Regions from separate parts of the Homo sapiens genome. Here region 1 is linked to region 2. Evidence: promoter capture Hi-C in human tissues and cell types (Jung and others, 2019). All regions are on one chromosome and are shown on one strand. The core of a region is centred on a gene start or on the middle of the fragment in contact, and the rest is flanking DNA. Distances in the headings are between cores, read along the strand shown.

The links. Contacts are between HindIII fragments. The study calls those that stand out against the background at their distance.
Region 1: a fragment that was not itself captured here is called in contact with the fragment with the promoter of CEP70 in region 2 in 1 of the 25 tissues and cell types used here (bladder).

The regions. Positions count from the first base shown.
Region 1 is chr3:139,304,518-139,307,217 of GRCh38, forward strand. No RefSeq gene overlaps it. Among named protein-coding and RNA genes, the nearest start is that of MRPS22, 38 kb to the right of the region's middle. The HindIII fragment of the contact is 4,198 bases long and covers 1-2,700 here.
Region 2 is chr3:138,592,911-138,595,610 of GRCh38, forward strand. It overlaps CEP70 (centrosomal protein 70), which reads right to left and starts at 1,350. Exons shown (of 18, transcript NM_024491.4): 1 at 1,288-1,350. RefSeq lists an enhancer at 1,555-1,614. The HindIII fragment of the contact is 13,008 bases long and covers 1-2,700 here.

The sequences.
Region 1 (2,700 bases), core at 45-2,544, 710 kb after region 2:
TCTTTGTTGCTTCTCTTGAATAACATTACAGGAGATCTCTTGCGTAACCACCACAATGATTCTGAAAGATGCTCTCCTCCTCACCTCACTTCTCCCATATCCTGTACCTACTCCAAAAAACCCTCACTCACTGAAGGGTTTTTCTGTTCTCTCCCCATTGATGAGCTGATTTGCATTCGAATATGGCAAGTGGAGGAAGCCTCTGAATGCTGATACATCAGTAGTTTTTGACCCATTACAGAAATAGCGTCTCTAAAGCACTTAGCACAGAGTCTGGCTCTTTGTAAAGTCTCAATGCATTCTCTTATTAATTAGAAAAACTGTGAAAGCAAATAATAGTTACTAAAAAATTAGAACTCAGGGCCCGGCGCGGTGGCTCGTGCCTGTAATCCCAGCACTTTGGGAGGCCGAGGCAGGCGGATCATGAGGTCAGGAGATCGAGACCATCCTGGCTAACACGGTGAAACCCCATCTCTACTAAAAATACAAAAAATTAGCCAGGCGTGGTGGCGGGCGCCTGTAGTCCCAGCTACTCAGGAGGCTGAGGCAGGAGAATGGCGTGAACCTGGGAGGCGGAGCTTGCAGTGAGCCGAGATCGCGCCACTGCGCTCCAGCCTGGGCGACAGAGTGAGACTCCATCTCAAAAAAAAAAAAAAAAAAAAAAAAAAACCAAAATTAGAGCTCGAAAAATATTATCAGATAGTACAAGTAGTTCTTTTTCTCCTAAAAAAAAATAGCTGAAGACAGTTATTTAAATCTTGAAAACCTTTAAAAGAAGCTTTCCCCTAATGTTTAATTCCTTAGATCTTCCTCCTAAAACTGTGTCTGTGGATCAGCAAGGAAACTGCCTCCCGGTTCTGCTCTGGTGGCCTCTCTAATTCTCGACATTATTGCCCTGTTTCTGAAAACCACAGTGAACACCCTGAAACTCTGGGGACAATTCTGACAACTTTGGAGCTGGGAGGGAGTTCATGGCCCCTTGGCTTCCAAAACAGAAAGAGGGGCTATGACCTGGCGCTTGGGATTGTCAGAGTTAGTTGGATTCTGAACTGAGAAGAACTGTCTGAGGACAGAGGGGAGATGGATAGTGCAGAGAAAGGATCATTCATTCATTCATTCACTCAACAGCCCTTCGTTGAGCATCTATTGGTAACAGATTGTGACATATTATTTTTTCCAAAGATAGCCATGCCCTATGTTTATCTCACCCCATATGCCTTTCTTGCAGGGTGACGGACACTCCTTCCACCTAGGGGGACCTGCATTTACTCCCCTTGAATCTGGATGGGTGTGTATGACTGCTTTGGCCAATAGAATATGGTAGAAGTGCTATTATATGACTTCTGATTTTAGGTCATAAAAAGGATACAGATTCCAGTTGTTTCCCTCTCTCTCTCTTTCTCCCCACAACCCCACACTCTCTTTTGGGATGCTTGCTCTTGGAACCCAGATGCCATGCTGGGAGGAAGCTCAGGTCACATGGAGAGGCCCAGGTAGTCCTGCAGTCAATAGGCAGCATCAACCACCACACATTGTGAATGATCCTTCAGATGGTCCCAGACCCTAGCTCAGGCCCAGACATTGTGGACAAAGTGTCCCATCTGTGCTAAATTCCTGACCTCTGGAAACCTTGGAGGTAAAATATAACTATTGTAGATTTGAGTCACTAGGTTCTGGGATAATTTGTTAGGCAGCAATAAATAGCTGGTGCATAGGCTCTGTGGGGAGTCCGGGCCACAGGAAGAGCTGTCGGGATCTCTGGGGAGATCACTAAGTAAACAGACAGTGACTGTGTTGCTTGATAAGGGCCATAGAGGGGAGCACAGAGAAAGTGTGTCTGACTCCCCTGGGGTACTGGGGATGGGGGCTCAGAAAGTCTTCTTGGGAGAGGTGACATGTCAGCTTGGTCTGGAAGGGCTAGAGTTAGCCAGCTGAAAGGAAGGATGAAAAATGGGGAAGAATGAAGGGAGGGGGCACTCCAGGGGGAAAACCTGGGCCAGGGCCATGTCCCTGGGAACTGGCTGCTCAGGGTGTTATCTGGCTTTTCTAGGTGACAAATCTCTCTAAGAACTGATCATTGTATAGGGTCTCACAACTGGCCAAGCCCCTGCATCTACCCAGGACAAATGAAATCAAGACTGTGGCCTTAGAAATCCTGTTCCAGGCCAGGGCCTAGGTACTGGCAGGGTATGAGGCGGTGGCCCACAGACAGCAGTGAGGAGTTATCCCAGAGCACATCTTTCTCTTGGGCTGTAGCAGCCTCTGAAAGTACTGGAAACCAGCAGGGGAGGGGGCCAGGGGCGAGATGGGGGTCAGTAGCATGGCCAATGCATTTGGGCAGCATGGGAAAATCCTGAAACAGCTTCCTACTCCAGGGGAAAGGTGTTTTTAATGCAAATTACAGCAGCATTGTTACCTGTAAGTTGGTGCTGACTTGCTAGGGCAGCAAGGCTGGCATTTGACTCCTTTAGATGTTCCCCATGGCCGAGTCCCACTCTATGAACTGCCCTTCTCTGAACATAGCTTCTCCCTGGTGGCCTTGGGTTTTTGCCTGAGCCCCTTCTCATACCCGGAGTGCCCATCCTGCTATTTTTATCTAGTCCCTCACCTCCTCCAGGAAGCCCTCCAAGAACCCTCAGGCTCCTCAGGACTCTACAGCCCCCTGTAACAGCCCTGGAATATGGTGGTGCCATGGCCTGT
Region 2 (2,700 bases), core at 100-2,599:
AATGCAAAAGCTCTATTCTAAAAATATTGCAACTTGCTGTTTAATGTTCCTAAGAAAGAGCTGAACTTACCCCAAATAGGAAAGAGTTAAAATGGAATGTCATCTCAACCAAATCATTCTGTCTCAGGAGAGGTGACATGAAGGGGCAGAACCTTGCTTTGAAGCAAAAGCTGTAGGGAAAACTCCAAGTCAGCCACCTCTTCCCCAAAAGGCGGGGCAGGGGAGGCCAGAGTCTACTTGGCAATATTTAAAGTACAAAACTCATGCAGAGGCTTGAAACCAATATGGGTAATGCCTGCACAGAGTTTAATATATTATACATATATTTTTGAGACAGAGTCTCGCTCCGTCACCCAGGCTGGAGTGCAGTGGCGCGATCTCGGCTCACAGCAACCTCCGCCTCCCGAGTTCAAGCGATTCTGCTGCCTCACCCGCCCGAGTAGCTGGGATTACAGGCGCACACCACCATGCCCAGCTAATTTTTGTATTTTTAGTAGAGACGTGGTTTCATCATGTTGGCCAGGGTGGTCTCGAACTCCTGACCTCAGGGGATCCGCCCACCTCGGCCTCCCAAAGTGCTGAGATTACAGGCGTAAGCCACTGCGCCCTGCCTGTTTAATATCATTGATTGAAAAACAAAGTGGCAGTAAAAAAGGAAACTCTGATTGGTCTCTCTGTTACAGGTGACTTAGCCTTCTGGCATTTTTCACCTTGAAAAACTCCTATTAGGCCCTGTATAAAGTCAGAGGTCTCCTGAATCCGGAATGAGGTTAATAAACTGGAGAAAGAGATACTCACCTGTGCTATTCGCCTAACCGCCCCCTTCTGCTCCGAGTCCTCACTCCCCAAACAACCTTCGCGGTTGTTTGACACAAAACTAGCGCTTCAGCCCGGGTCGATTTTGGGGGATGGAGTAATTACCTACAGCTTAAATCGAGTCTGTGCCCGACGTGATTCTAAGCTTTACTCTTACTGCCTCATTTAACCCTCACAACCACCTTGTAAGGCAAGAATTACCAGCTTTAGTATACAAATAAAGAATCGGAGGCGCTGAGACATTAAAGGAGAAGCCAAAGAACACAAAGCCTGGGGAGCTGGGACTGGAGGCAGTTTTGTCCGATCCCCAAACCCTTACGCAGGGATTTTTAATTGGCGCGACCCTGTCCCAGATGGCTCCTCCCCGACAAGGGTCAGTCTGACCACTTTTAGGCCCAGGTGAGGTCAAGTCCGGGGTACTCCGGGAAGGGGCTCACGCCGACGCCTCTGAGAGCCCCGAGAGCCACTCACCTTACTCAGTCGCCGGCCTCCCACCAGCAGCCAGCCGGGCCAGGTTAGGCTGGGATCAGCTACGTCAGGCCCCGCCTCCGCGACCGTTACCACCGCCGGGGGAGGGCGGCCAATCGAGCCCGAGCGCGTCGAGGGCCAGCCCCTCTTTGGCCTGCGAATGCCCCCAAACGATTCTCTCCAGCCTCTCCGGGAAGCTGGGTCCGCCCCGCTCCCTCCGGTTGGCTCACTACGGGGGGCGGGGCTTACCGCAAACGAAGGCGTCGGTGCGATGTGCTGGTCTCGGGCACGCTGGCGCTTCCAACGCACTCCTTGGGTGCCCTGTCACTTACATGGAGGCTTATTTGCCCGGAAGACGTCAGAAATACTTGTGGCCGTGGGTGAAAGTGAAGCCTGGGTTACCTGGCCACCAGAGACTGCCCTCTCTCTCGCCCCCTACCCCGCCGCGACTACGAGCCCTTGCTGGGGTACGGGTCAGCATGTTCTCGATGTTCCAGACCTGAATGACCACTGTAGCAGCTGACATTTGGAGGACCCCAATAAATATTTGTTGACGACAGTTCATCTTCCCATTCAGCATTTTCCACATCTCGACGAAGCGTCAGGCCCTACCTGAGGCTGTAGCTGTCCACCATTGTCATTGTATCTTATAGCCACATGGTGTCGCTGTTGACAACTTGTCTTTTCAAATCAGTCAAATGATGTAGGTCTGTGTTACAGTCAAATGTTGCAACAGACTGTGTTGCAGTCAAATGATGCAGGTCCCACAGTAGCCAACAGGGATGTCCCATCTAGGGCATCAGCCAAGGGTCTCTCATCAGGAGATCCAAGGGCTCTTGGAGCTCAATACTTTCAGACCCTTCTTAGCCTTCTTCCAGGCAGCTGGGACTACACTTAGGTTTGATCTCTGTGTTTGCCCCATGCAAACATGTCCCTACCCCAACCTACGCCTACCCACTGTGCTTTCCATACCTGGATATTCACTCTAACGACGGTTAGCAGATTGCATTTTCAGTTCTCAAAATGCAAATAGTCTCAGTGCTTCCCTTTTCCAAGATAATAGGGTGCCCTTGCATACTCTTCTGAGAATGGCTGCCCTAATTGTAGAGGCCAAACATCTTTGAGTCAGTTATTATTATTTTGGATGCACGTGATATAGAATCTGAGTTAAACTGTCTTCCTAAAAAATAAAGAAGTTGCTTATCTCGCATAACAGAAAGCTCAGAGGCAAGGGAGACTTTGATTAATTCAGTGGCTAAGCAAGTTAACAAGGACCCAGTTGCTATTAGTCTCTGCTTTGTTGTAAAAAAAAAAAAGGGTAGACTTCAAATTCATACTAACGTGATTTTCCAGATGTCTACTTGGAGAAATCAGGACCACATACTTTCTTTTTCATCTAAAACCTTTCCTTCTGGT